Linked DNA regions of Homo sapiens: all the other regions are linked to region 2. Evidence: promoter capture Hi-C in human tissues and cell types (Jung and others, 2019). All regions are on one chromosome and are shown on one strand. Each heading gives the region's core, a stretch centred on a gene start or on the middle of the fragment in contact. The rest is flanking DNA. Distances are from core to core; before and after follow the strand shown. Region 1 overlaps KIAA1549L (KIAA1549 like). Region 2 holds the start of FBXO3 (F-box protein 3). Region 3 holds the start of LOC124902660 (a long non-coding RNA gene). Region 4 has its middle 6.8 kb from the start of KIAA1549L. Region 5 overlaps KIAA1549L (KIAA1549 like).

The links. Contacts are between HindIII fragments. The study calls those that stand out against the background at their distance.
Region 1: a fragment that was not itself captured here is called in contact with the fragment with the promoter of FBXO3 in region 2 in 1 of the 25 tissues and cell types used here (heart left ventricle).
Region 3: a contact is called between a fragment that was not itself captured here and the fragment with the promoter of FBXO3 in region 2, in 1 of the 25 tissues and cell types used here (dorsolateral prefrontal cortex).
Region 4: a fragment that was not itself captured here is called in contact with the fragment with the promoter of FBXO3 in region 2 in 1 of the 25 tissues and cell types used here (heart right ventricle).
Region 5: a fragment that was not itself captured here is called in contact with the fragment with the promoter of FBXO3 in region 2 in 1 of the 25 tissues and cell types used here (IMR-90 fibroblasts).

The regions. Positions count from the first base shown.
Region 1 is chr11:33,406,221-33,408,920 of GRCh38, forward strand. The region is part of intron 1 of KIAA1549L (KIAA1549 like); the gene reads left to right. Among named protein-coding and RNA genes, the nearest start is that of KIAA1549L, 31 kb to the left of the region's middle. The HindIII fragment of the contact is 6,349 bases long and covers 1-2,700 here.
Region 2 is chr11:33,773,225-33,775,924 of GRCh38, forward strand. It overlaps FBXO3 (F-box protein 3), which reads right to left and starts at 1,296. Exons shown (of 11, transcript NM_012175.4): 1 at 1,170-1,296. The coding sequence starts at 1,273. It overlaps FBXO3-DT (FBXO3 divergent transcript), which reads left to right and starts at 1,475. Exons shown (of 3, transcript NR_120550.1): 1 at 1,475-1,527; 2 at 2,030-2,139; 3 at 2,224-2,446. RefSeq lists an enhancer at 310-810 and silencers at 759-828, 1,289-1,388. The HindIII fragment of the contact is 9,520 bases long and covers 1-2,700 here.
Region 3 is chr11:34,060,273-34,062,972 of GRCh38, forward strand. All of the region lies in intron 2 of CAPRIN1 (cell cycle associated protein 1), which reads left to right. It overlaps LOC124902660 (a long non-coding RNA gene), which reads left to right and starts at 206. Exons shown (of 2, transcript XR_007062651.1): 1 at 206-919. The HindIII fragment of the contact is 3,578 bases long and covers 1-2,700 here.
Region 4 is chr11:33,367,940-33,370,694 of GRCh38, forward strand. No RefSeq gene overlaps it. Among named protein-coding and RNA genes, the nearest start is that of KIAA1549L, 6.8 kb to the right of the region's middle. The HindIII fragment of the contact is 3,548 bases long and covers 1-2,755 here.
Region 5 is chr11:33,424,703-33,427,402 of GRCh38, forward strand. All of the region lies in intron 1 of KIAA1549L (KIAA1549 like), which reads left to right. Among named protein-coding and RNA genes, the nearest start is that of KIAA1549L, 50 kb to the left of the region's middle. The HindIII fragment of the contact is 4,649 bases long and covers 1-2,700 here.

The sequences.
Region 1 (2,700 bases), core at 145-2,644, 370 kb before region 2:
AGAGGGAAAAAAATTAATCCAGAATCCCACGGCCCCAACACACCCGCTGTTTGCATTCCTGTTAGGAACCGAGTGTGGCTTTCATTTGCTTGGCTGGCTTGCAGGATGGCTGGGTGGGGAGGGGGTTCCTGCCGGCTGCGACTTATGCTTCACACGTGCACGGGCCATATGGCAACACCAGTGTGCATGTGCAGGGGAGGGGCCGCTGCCTTGACCCCGGGCTTTCCATTGGGTGCCTCTGTTTTCAAATCATCTTTGGTCCGAATCCTATCATCTCCTCTCTTAGGGACAGGTGGATGTAGATGGGGAAGCTGGAACTCAAACTACCCCCTTTGCTTATGTTGTGTTGTAATCCGCGCAGCGGAGCAAAGCTCCCCAGAGTTGGCAGCCCCTGAAATTCAGGGCAGGTCTGACATTTGCTCTCCACTCTGCCCTGCACTCTTCTTTCTTAAGGCCCCCTAGCCCTCCGCTGCCTCAAAGGGATCAGCGCTCACTGCATCTTTCTTCACGAATCTAATTGTAAAGGATCAGGCACCTACCAGGATGCAGTTATACTTTGCTGCTGCTTCGTATTCTTCATTTTTGGGGTAACAGTTTTGTTAACCTTTGCTTTCGCACACCCAGGTGTCGGATGAGGTCTTTTGGCCCCTTAAGACCTACTTAGATTGGCTCCAGCCCTCCTGTTGCCTGCTGCTGGAGGTGTAATGTTCACGATTCCTGTAAATTCCTCAGGCACTTATGTTCTAGTTTCTGTCTTTGAGCTCTTGCTTCACTGAACTAGCTCAAGGTAGGGACTCTTTGTTCCTGTTCTTCATAGGTCTATCTAGGTAGATGTGGAGTTCAGTCCTTTTTCTTTTTTCATTTTTTTTTTTTTTTTTTTTTGAGACGGAGTCTCGCTCTGTCGTCCAGGCTGGAGTGCAGTGGCGTGATCTCGGCTCACTACAAACTCCGCCTCCCGGGTTCACGCCATTCTCCTGCCTCAGCCTCCCGAGTAGCTGGGACTACAGGCGCCTGCCACCACGCCCGGCTAATTTTTTGTATTTTTAGTAGAGACGGCGTTTCACCGTGTTAGCCAGGATGGTCTCTATCTCCTGACCTCGTGATCCGCCCGCCTCGGCAGTCCTTTTTCTTTTTCTTTTTTGAGACAGTCTCACTCTGTCGCTTAGGCTGGAGTGCGGTGGCATGATCTTGGCTCACTGCAACCTCTGCCTCCCGGGTTCAAGTGATTCTCCTGCCTCAGTCTGCAAGCCTGCGAGTAGCTGGGATTACAGGCACGCGCCACCGTGCCTTGCTAATTTTTGTATTTTCAGTAGAGACGGGGTTTCACCGTGTTGGCCAGGCTGGTTTCAAACTTGTGACCTCAAGTGATCTGCCCGCTTTGGCCTCCCAAATTGCTGGGATTATAGGCCTGAGCCACCGTGCCCTGCCCTAATCCTTTTAATTCCTTCAAACCACCCACCTGAACTCACCATTCACAAGTACAGAGAAGACTCTAATGAGGGTTGGGGAATCCTAAGGGTTTGCCTTGCAGTGAAGCAGATGGCTTTACAAGGGAAACCCTGCCTCCTTGTTCTGAAAAGTTCCTGGCCAATTCTAAAAACTTTAAATCCCCCAGCCTTCTGCGCCCGTCTATCCATTTTCTCTCTTCCCTTTCATCCTCAACCCCCACATTCCTCATGAGTTCTCACTCAGAGTTCTTGAGCTTTCTTTAGTCAACTTCCTACTGGGAATGACCCGTTCCTGCAGGGTCTCACCTTCCAAGCCCAAGAAGCTCATCAAGTTGTTTTTTTTTCCCACCTTGTAAACAAGACAGTTTCCTTCTCAAGGGGTGTTAAGATAATAAAAATTTTACCTTGTTGTTTAATTATCCGCTTTCTGGAGGAAAAAACCTCAATCAATTCTACTCTTCTGAAATAAGGAACAAATATTGTGTACAAAACAGAAAGATTGGAAAATGTCTTTTGTAGTACCTTCTTTTCTAAAACATGTAAAACTGAGCTAATACATTCTGGAGCTAGGCAGGTAGCTAACTGGTGCTCTGGGCATCAGTCGGGAATAGAGAACTAAATTCTGAGTTGGGAGTGTTGCTGGGCAGGGGACTTCGTCACATAGCATCTGCGTGATCTTGGTTTTGGGCCTATCATGTGGTGTTTCCCCATCAGCAAAATTGGATTCAGTGATATCTAATATCTAATATCTTCCAAGTCTAATATTTTATATGGCGCTCTCCATAAGTTAGAGATATATATATACATACTCTGTATATGTGTATATATATATATATATATATACACATGTATATATGTATACAGAAATTTTAGATCTTCCCAAACCTTTAGGAAAGCTTCCTACACACAGATGCCTCATGTGAGCAAGTTTTTTTGGCACCTCTCTGTCCCAGTCCCACATGTCCAAAGTGATATAGACTTTCCTTGGTTAGGGAGTTGGTTGTCTCATTTCTGACATCATCTTTAAGATTAAGTGTTCTACGGATCACATGAGGCCCGGAGTCTGAGACCAGCCTGGCCAACATGGTGAAACCCCATCACTACTAAAAATACAAAAAAAAAAAAAAAAAAATTAGCCGGACATAGTGGCGCATGCCTGTAATCCCAGCTACTCGGGAGGGCGAGGCAGGTGAATCACTTGAATCCAGGAGGCAAAGGCTGCAGTGAGCCAAGATTTTGCCACTGCACTCCG
Region 2 (2,700 bases), core at 46-2,545:
TACTCTGGCAGCAATCAAAAGTTGGAGACTGTTAGTTAAATTGTAAGTATTTTCTAGAAAAATAAAATTGCTAGCAGGTACAGGTAGCGACCAGTACAGGTAGTGACCAAAAACTTGAGGTATCTCTCTATCACCACTTAGCTAGGCCAACAACTATCTGTAGCTCCAAGAAATCTGTATTTATAAAAAGACCTCTAATAACACAGGGCACAATCATCAAATGGCTAGAATCTAATGGTTAATCCAAACACAAAACAAATCTCGCCCACCTATCCTAAGAGGGCGACTTTGCATCCTCTGCAAATATATACGGTAGCACAGGAAACTCACAGCCATGCCACCCCCTGTCAAGGGTGTAAACAATCCTGACAGCTGGGGGGCGGGCTGGCAGCGCCATTTCTTCCACCACCCCAGACAGTCCCAAGTTCTGAAGAAACTGGGCATTGAACCACCCTTATCAGCAACCGGTGTTTATTTCTGGAACAGATGCTAGTAATGTGGGAAACCCAAGGTGTCCAGGAGAAAAGATAGTCACCGGTATGGCATCACCGGAAGTCAGTACCAAAACATAAAATCCAACATCGAACCGTAAGGAGCAATGCTGACAGCAAAACAATTCTCACGCACTGAAGTCCGAAAGTGAGCCCGGACAGCGATTCTGGCGCTGGGGAAGTCGCGCCAGGGGAGTAAGGGGTTGCCTATCTTCTCCTCTCGCTCACCCACCTGCCCACCCCGGCGCCAGACTCCGCAGGCCCCGGACCCAGCAGAGAAGAGCGCCTGGCCGGGACAGGGGCTTTTACACAGCAGCAGGGACTGACCCCAACCGGGCGGGCACCTGCGGGGCCAGCGGGGGTCCGCGGAGCGCGGCGGTGCGGCACGAGGGCCACTACCTCCTTCTCTTGCAAGTGGGCCTCACCGAGGCCTGGGAGAGAGATATCTCGTCGCTTCTCATACCTGGGCCCAGGACAGGAGGAAGACTCAGGGCGAGGCCCTTTCCGCCCCCGTCTCGCCCCGGTCCCCGGTGGCTCCGCAGGATGAGGGCGGCCCTGGCGTCACCTTCTGGTGTCGCGGAAGCTCGGGTCCTGTCAGCGGCCCCGACCCCCTTTCCCCCTGCCTCACCGCCTCCTCTCCCCATGCCCCCACCCCTGCCATGCGTGTCGTCCCATTACTTGATTAGATCCCGATAGTCCAAAAAGGATAAGATGAGGAGCAGGGGATCGGTGGGCAGCGACTCTAGGGTCAGCGGCGCCGTCTCGGTCTCCATGGCCGCCATCTTGCCTGGCCCGGTGCAGGTCTGGCCCCGCCCTGGCCCCGCCCCTGCCCCGCCCCCACCAGCGCCCGAACCGCCCCCAGCCGCTCTCACAGGTTTGTTATGTAACCGCCGGGCCAGCCCCGCCCTCAGGGTGGGCTGAGGTGCGGCTCCCTGGAGACCCCGCCCGCTAGCCGGGAGCCAGCGGCGCAGTGCGAGTTCAGCCCGCTTTCTTCGCGCTCCGCGTCAAATCTCTCCAGCTCTGTTCTCGCATCCCGGTTCGTAAACTTGCCCAGCCCGGGACCCTTTTGTTGCCAAATCTGCCTCGGTCTGCCCAACTCCTCCTGCGAAATTTTACACTCAGTATGCAGGAAGCCTCGCTCAAAATCTGACACTCCTCCACGCCCTTGGTCCCCAAATCCATTCCTTCTCTTTGTTTTCCAACCCGAGAACCCCTCGTTTTCCCCGCTCAGCCTTCCCCACCCCGCTTGTCCCCCGCACACAGCAGGGCCGCTCCGAGACTTGTCCACTCAGCAAGAGCAGAGCTGAGAATCAGCCAGGGACGCCAGCTGAAGGCCCTTCTCCCAAATTAAGGAAATAATTGTTGAGGGCTTAACTTCACGCCCCTCCCCGCCTTCCTAAGTAAAATGTGTACAAGGAGTGAGTCTGAGTCTCAGCCGCTGTCCCTTAATTTGGTTATCATGGCTATTTTCAGCCTATTAGGGCAATGCAAAGGGTACAGTGTGGATTTTTTCCAGCTTTAAAATTTATTTTGGCCAGGGTTTAGATCCCGCAGAGTTAAGTATCCCGCGTGTGAAGGGATGAACTGAGACTCCCAGAGGGCATAACTGATGGAGGCACGAAGATGTCTGCTCTTCAGCTTTGCCAAGGTGATATTAAAATGAGAGTGGGGGAAGTATAATGGGTCCATACATCACTTGCCTGATTTCTTCTTTTCCATTGCTTTTCCAAAGGTAGTATGGTGTAAGGGGCTTTGGGGAATCCAGACAGACCTGGACTTCACACGCCCGTCATTTATTTCACTACTAGTGAAATGCTGGCGTAGTTACGCCTAAGTTCTCTGAGACTGTCCCTCATCTCTAAAACCACCCCTCCTCTGGTGAACTAAGGATGGCGATAACGCTTTATGTAAAGTGCCTGGCCAGATACTCAATAAATGTTAATTTTCCAAGCTTATACATGCATCAGTCACTAAGTTCTCCAAACATTTCCATATCCTGGAGAAAGTTTCTCTCAATTATTTGGAAGAGTGGAAGTGATATGCCCCGCCCCAAAAAAATCCATTTCCTCCATTCTTCATACCATTAATGCCTTCTATTTATGGTTTTGCTTAATAGTTATAACCCCTGCCACCCAGCCAACAAAACAGAACAACAGCAACAAAAAACTCTGCCTACATCTCTGTGCTTCCAAATTGTTTATGCATATGC
Region 3 (2,700 bases), core at 88-2,587, 290 kb after region 2:
TTATTATTAGAACCATTGTACATTATTGGAAATTTCATTGCATTCTCCTCAATACTGTTCTAAAAATATTTTAATTTTAATTTTTTAGAGACAGGGTCTCACTATCACCCAGGCTGGAGTTCAGCAGGGCAATCATAGCTCATTCCAACCTTGAACTCTTAGCCTTAAGCGATCCTCTTGTCTCAGCCTCCCAAAGTGTTGGGATTACAGGGTTGACCCACTGTGCCTGGCCCCCCTCAATACTGTTATCTAAACATAGAAATAACTGAAATATATTTTAGTCATTAAAAAACCCTTTGGGCTTACACTTTGAGTTACATTGAACTTCTTTTTACATTGTGGACAGGAAAGATAGTAAGCAAAAGTTTCCTCAATTTTTAAAAGGACGACGGTAGAAAGAACACATTGCAATCTATAGATGATCCATGGCAGCTATCTTCAAATGCTGAAAGCTTGCTCATGTAGCAGGAGTCTGTGCTGTTTTAGAAAACGAAAAAGTATTAAAACAGTGATGGTGGGGATGTAATTTTTTTACATTTAACTCCCAAGGAATGTATTAATATAAATAAGTTGTACAGAATTATGCTAAGGAATAGCTTGGTTAAAGCAACTAATATTTTGAAAGATGCCCTTTAAGATTATTTATGGTAATTTGCTTTTCAAATCTAGAAGCTTTAGACTTTTTAAGAATATAGTTCAAAGTAGGTGATGCTGGAACTTGTTAACATTTCTTTTTCCTACTAGAGTCAGCTGCTTCAATTCACTCAGACTTACCTGCATAATTATAACCTTGGACAAGGAATAAAGGTTTTTACAGGATTGGCTTTTATCTTTTTTAAAAAATTGGACAAACGGCTTGTGAAACTAAACTCCTGGATACTTAACCTGCTTGAAAAATTATCTTACAATGGAACCTTAGGTAACATCCTTTTTTTTTTTTTTTTTTTTTTTGAGATGGAGTTTTGCTTTTGTTGCCCAGGCTGGAGTACAATGGCGCAATCTCAGCTCACTGCAACCTCTGCCTCCCAGGTTCAAGTGATTCTCCTGCCTAAGCCTCCCAAGTAGCTGGTATTATAGGCAACCACCACCGCACCCGGCTAATTTTCTGTATTTTTAGTAGAGACCAGGTTTCATCATGTTGCCCAGGCTGGTCTCAAACTCCTGACCTCAGGAGATTCGTCCACTTTGGCCTCCCAAAGTGTTGAGATTACAGGCATGAGCCACTGCACCTGGCCTAGGTTAGCATTCTTATGCCATTCTTAGCGTTCAGAAATCCAGCATTCCTGACAGGTGTTCATTCAGCCTCTGCTTTAACCAGTCTTCCAGGGCCTGGTAGAGTGCTCGTTTCTCAATGAAAATTTGTTTCATTGGTGTGCCACTCTTTAAGTTCTTGGTGGTAGAAGTATATCCTTACCGGCCGGGCACAATGGCTCATGCCTGTAATCCTAACACTTTTGGGAGGCTGAGGCGGGCAGATCACCTGATGTCAGGAGTTGGAGATCAGCCTGGCCAACATGGTGAAACCCCGTCTCTACTAAAAATACAAAAATTAGCCGTGCGTAGTGGCTTATGCCTGTAATCCCAGTTACCTGGGAGTCTGAGGCAGGAGAATCGCTGGAACCTGGGAGGCAGAGGCTGCATGAGCCAAGATCGCACCACTACACTCCAGCATGGGTGACACAGCGAGAGTCTGTCTCAAAAAAAAAAAAAAAAAAGTATATCCTTACCACCACTGTTTAATAGTCTTTGTTTTCTGGAACAGCATAGACTCCCGCTACATGAGCATGCTTTCAACATTTGAAGAAAGCTGCCATGGATCAGCTATGGATTGTAGTGTATGTTCTTTCTACCCTGCTTTTAAAAATTGAGGAAACTTTTGCTTACTATCTTTTTTGTCTTCTGGGGATTTCACTAGCTAACAATACTCAGTTGAATTTGTGGAGGGCAAATAGGAGACAGTCAGCTGCCTACCATTGTGGGCAAAGTCAAAACTCGTAATTGTCTAAGTGAAGAACAGAGAATGTGGGGATTGGGGACTTGAAATAATACCTGGAAAAACTGGTAAAGATTGGACCGGGCGCGGTGGCTCACGCCTGTAATCCCAGCACTTTGGGAGGCCGAGGCGGGCGGATCACGAGGTCAGGAGATCAAGACCATCTTGGCTAACACAGTGAAACCCCGTCTCTACTAAAAATAAAAAAAATTAGCCGGGCGTGGTGGTGGGCGCCTGTAGTCCCAGCTACTCGGGAGGCTGAGGCAGGAGAATGGCGTGAACCTAGGAGGCAGAGCTTGCAGTGAGCTGAGATCACGCCACTGCACTCCAGCCTGGGCGACAGAGCAAAACTCCGTCTCAAAAAAAAAAAAAAAAAAGGAAAACTGCTAAAGATTATGGAAAGTTGAGAGGAAAAGAAATATTTTGTTTTTGCAAAAGTTGGTACAGTACTCTAGAAGTGATTTATTTGGCCTGGATACATAAAGTATAGCTAGGTGCTCTTAACTACTTTGGTTATTTTAGGCTTCATTTTTAAGTATTCCCTCTCAGTTTAGACATCTCCTTATTTGAGAATAGGAGTTACGAAGTTTTCCTGGAAAGCCAAGTTAGTTTTTTTCAGATGTTTCCTCCTAATCTTCCTTCTGACTATTTAAAATTGTCTAGTTGAAGAATTTTTAGGGTTTTTTGGAGTTTATCATCTCTCTTTG
Region 4 (2,755 bases), core at 160-2,659, 410 kb before region 2:
TAACCTCCAGATTACTTATAATACTAATACAATGTAAGCACTATGCAAAAAGTTGTTATACCATATTGTTTTTTATTTCCACGTTTTTATTGCTGTATTGCTATTTTTTTATAGTTTTTCTCTGAGTATTTTCCACCTGAGGTTGGTTGAATCTGTGGATGCAGAACCACGGATACAGAGGCCGTGCCTAGTCATCTCCAGGGAAGTGAAGAGTAGAAATGAAGCTGTTTTTTGTTTTTTCATTTTTCGTTTCTTGTAAAAACACAGGAATAGCTTTTCAACAACTACCAAAGCTTAGGGATTTGATTTTTTAAAAATTCACTCACTGACGTTAGGTATAAGCCCTATACCGAATGGCCCAATATCTTGTTACTCAAAGAGTTGTCTCCGATCAGCCTCGGCATCACTTGACAGTTTGTTAGAAATGCAGACTCTGGGGCTGGGTGCCATGGCTCACGCTTGTAATCCCAGCACTTTCAGAGGCTGAGGCGGGTGGATCACCTGAGGTCAGGAGTTTGAGACCAGCCTGACCAACATGGTGAAAACCCTTCTCTACTAAAAAATACAAAAATTAGTCAGGCATGGTTGTGAATGCCTGTAATCCCAGCTACTTAGGAGGCTGAGGCAAGAGAATCGCTTGAACCTGGGAGGCGGAGGTTGCAGGGAGCTGAGATCACGCCACTGTACTCCAGCCTGGGCAACAGAGCAAGACTCCCTCTTAAATAAATAAATAAATAAATAAATAAATAAATGCAGACTCCTGGGTGACCCCAGACGTTCTTTTTAGCCTCTCTCTCTCTCTTTTTTTTTTTTTTGTATATTTTTGTGTTTTTTTGTATTTTTTACTACTTATTTTTGTTTTTCTTTTTGTATTTCAATTTTTTTTACTACTTTTTTTTCACTTCAAAATTTTTTAAAAATAGATTTCTTTATTTTCTGGAATTTTTCTAGCCATGGTAACCCCAGGCCTTTTTAATCAGAATCTTCATTTTAGCAACATCCCCATGTAACTTATGTGTACATTCGAGTTTGTGAAACTTGGGCCTAATGGACAGCTTTACCTGGATGCTCCTTTTAGCACTTGTTTTTTTCCCCCAAGCCTAATTTTCCTGTATCTATATTTCCTGTATTCCCAGATACCTATCTTCCTTCCTACTTTCCTTCCTTCTCCCCTACCTCCCCTCCCTTTCCTTCCCCTCCCCTTCTCCCTTCCCTTCTCCCTTCCCTTCCCTTCCCTTCTCTTCCCTTTCCCTCCTCCTCTTCCTCTTTCTCCTGGTATCATTGGTTACTCCCTGTCAAATCCTTCAACACTGTTCCTGTCTCCTTACCATCCTCATTGTGCTGCCTCAGTTCAGACCTGGAACTTATCCAAACTAATACTTTTATCTGACTTCCTGGCTTTGAGTCCACCCCCACTCCTCCAACCTTCCTCATTACTTTCCAGGTGGTCTTTTTAAAATTCAATTTTGACCAAGACAGTAGCAGTGGAGGTGCCAAGGAGATGCTTGGAGCAATAGAAGGGGCAAGTAAACATAACCTAAGTGAAAGCAGAGCTCTTCTTATCAAATTCAGCTTCAAGACGAGTCCTGGACCAGTTTCCTCAAAGCTTCTCATGAAAATTCTGAAGTTGCCTTTGGATGCCAGCCTGCTTTCAAATTTTCACTGTCACTGTCAAGATGATGTCCAATCTCTTGGAGGACTTTTCGGAGGACTTTTCTTTTCTTTACTTTTTTAGAGACAGGGTCTTGCTGTATTGCCCAGGCTGGGCTTGAACTCCTGGCTTCAACTAATCCCACCTGGGCCTCCCAGTGCTGGAATTCCAGGCTCGAGCCACTGTGCCTGGCTTTAGGAGGACATTAAATTCTCTATGACCACAATCTAATTTTAAAACATTTCTATTACCCTAAAAAGAAACTTTGTGCCCATTACAGTCACTTTTTGTTTTTACTCACCAGCCCCAGGTAAGCACTAATCTACTTTCTCTTTGGTTTGCCTTTTCTGGACACTTCATACAAACGGAGTCATAGAATATTGTGACCTTTTGTGACTGGCTTCTTTCATTTCGCATAGTATTTTCAATTCATCAGTGTTGTAGCATGTATCAGTACTTTCTTCCTTTTTATCGATGAACAGTATTTGGTTGTCCCACATTCTATTTATCTTTTCACCAGTTCATGAGTTCTTCCCACTTTTTGGCTATTGTGAATAATGCTGCTCCATATATTTGTGTAAAAGCATTGTGTGAACATACGCTTTTATTTGTTTTGAGTAGATACATGTATCTTGATATCTTGGGTAGATATCTCTAGTTTCTGAAAGGGATAGTGTGGTAGCGTTTTAAAGTTTTCTCAAGGTTACTAGTTATTAGGTGATGGAGTTAGGACTTCAACTCAGGTTGTAAATCATTGAGATTTTCAATGACCAATCCTGGTTTCCACCCCACAGAGCCCAAGAAATAGTCTCAACACAGTGAGACAAGAAATTGAGGGCAAAGAGAGACAGTAAAAATGAGCTAGCCCCATACTGTCAAATGCTAGACCAGATCTCTGCTCTGCTATTGGATGAATCCCAAAAGCAACAGAAGTATTAGTGAGAGACAGATTGACCTTTGATCGTTAAAAAACAAACAAAAGACCCTGCCTCCTCCCACTGGAGGATTTATTTATTTATTTATTTGAGACGGAATCTCACTCTGCTGCCCAGGCTGGAGTGCAGTGGCATGATCTCGGCTCACTGCAACCTCTGCCTCCCGGGT
Region 5 (2,700 bases), core at 177-2,676, 350 kb before region 2:
CTGGGTACTGATGAGAAGGGCAAACAGAAGAGAATAAACCAGGAGAATGATGATCTTTGTTCAAGTTTTAAATACAGAGTATTGAAATATACTCCTCTCCAAGTATCATCACAGATGCAGCCTGCTTCTGTAGAATCCTGATGGCTGTGGACTCTGTGTGGTGAGGAGGTGAAGAATGAGGTTGGGAGAGGTGCTGCCTTTCTGGCCTCTGTACAGAGGGCATGAGGAAAGCTAAACTCCTCCAGTCAAGAGACCATGGGTCTCCAGTATCTCCAAATGCCCAGCACTTAGAATAGAAAGTTGGCAGGGAGTCAGTGCTAGTTAAATGAATGAACAAATAAAACCTTGATTTTGATTCCCTTTCTAGATACCAAACTTTGATCTCTTTATGTCTTATTTTATTCATTTGTAGGGTGGAGATGTTAATATGTGCTCTAATTCCATCTCAAGGAGCTTTTCAGAGCCTAAGATGAGTTAATTGATTTGAAGATTTGTATATACGTTAGTATCTAGAGCAGAAGAGAACTTACCTTGTGTTTCTTACAGCTCTTCTTCTTGGTCCTCAAGTCCTATTTTAAAATTTTGTCAATTAGAGGACTCTTGGTTCTCTTGGTTGACTCATTCTCTGCTGATTTGTTCTCTGTACTTGCAGCAAATAAAGTGCAGTCATTGAGAATGTTCCTGTGTCACTGTGATGTATCAAGGGATCTTCATGTTAATATCTGTTTCTCTGACAACTGTGTTTTATACTTTGTACTGTAGCTTTCATTGGAGAAGCCCTGGGCTCATAAGAGTGATTTGTTGTGGCATTTCCTTATGGAACATAAGCTTTGAAATATACTTGAGATAAATATTCATGGGAGACATCCAAATGCAGTAATGAGAGTACAATGAAGACAGCATTTGGACTTGGAAAACCTGAGTTCAAGTCCTCTCACTTGCTGTACGTAGATGAAAACATCTGCTTATTTCCGCTATTATTAGGAAAGGCTGGAATTCTATTTCACTTTGCATCACACGTCATATGGATGGAGAAACCCAGCAAACACTACTTTAGCCAAATAAAGTAATCAAAGATAACATCACCAGTAATGAGATGTGTCAACATGTTCTCCTTATTTTGATGCACAGAGCAAAAGGCAAAACATCACTTCTTTGGGATTTTTACTGAAAATGCACAAGTTCAGTCTAAGCACGAGAAAACACCAGACAAACCCAAATTAAGGGCAGTTCTACAAAATACCTGACTAGTCAGTCCTCTTCACAGATGGCAAGGTCATGAAAGACAAAGAAAGACTGAGGAACTGTCACAGATTGGTGGAGGCTAAGGAGACTTGAGAACTAAATGCAATGTGGGACCCTGGATTGGATTCTGCATCAGAAAAAGGACATTAGAGACAAAGTTAGCAACATTCAAATAAGGTCTAGAGTAGTTAATATAAATTTATCAGTGTTATATTCTTGGTTTTGGTAATTGTATTATGGTTATGTAGGATATTAACAGTAGAGGAAGCCAAGTGAAGCGTATTGAACTCTCTGCACTCTCTGCTTTGGTAATTTTCTATGAGTCTGAAGTTTTTTCAGAAGTTAAAAACATGATACTGGGACACATGAAAGCTTTGTGAAATATCCTGTTTTATGGGAAGTAGAGGGGGTTTCATTTCTTGCATATGAATTTAGGAGCTAGAAAGACCAATTTTCTGAAGCTAAAGGAGTCAAACTGTATCTTGACTGATGGAGTTCCTGACCATAAATTGAGAGCAAGGAGGGTTAACTCTTTGAGATCCCCAGAGGCCCTCCTGGTGCACAGGTGGTTGAGTACCTGGAGGTGATAGTATTTTGGCTGTATCATCTTTCACCTGGTCACCTGGGCAGAGCTGTGGGGCTATAATGATGATTACCCTTAGATTGAAAGTTTGTTATGTGCTAGAATCTGGGTACCAACTGCTTGTCACCATTAATCTTAATAATATTTTTGAAAAGCAGGTAGGTGATAGTTCCCTTATTTTAGGATACATCTCAGAGAGATTCATTTGCCCAAGAGCACTTGGATGGAGTGGAAATCTGACTGCAAGCTCAGGTTCTGACAGCTGTGCTGATCTTTTCTCCTTTGCCCTTGGTGGGTGCTCCCCTGAGGGCCTCCAGATCTGGCCCCTCCATTATCATTTATATCTGTGCTTGATAGAAAATTAGGAATCAGTGTTTTCCTACCCCCTATTATCTGTTTAAGCATAGACTAGCATTTTATGTAGGCTCTTTGGGGCTATTAATTGGTTTCTGTGGTCAAATGTGTTTTGGGGAAACTTAGGGATAAATATTAAATTCAGTAGCTCTCCACCTTTACCCAGGCAACTAAATGGGCGGTAGAAAACCACACGACCAGGCTCATTAGTCTCATCAGTTTATACCATGAACCTCAAGTGGGCCTTTGGTGCTGCCCAGCAATGCCACTCTATTTCCCTAGCACAGTCATCTGCCCATTCTCTAGGGTGACTGCTTCATACCTTCTCTTCCTCACAAAATCTCCCCATCTCCCAAGAAAAAACAGGTAGAAGAGGATTTCCACAAGCCCTTACCACTGCCTTAACCTGGCTGCCTGAATCCTGCCTTCTCTCCCTTTGAGGATGAACCATCTCTGATCCCTTTGTGGGAGACAATATCCCCTCTCAGGCTGTCGGGGTCCTCCTGCCAGCAGTTCCC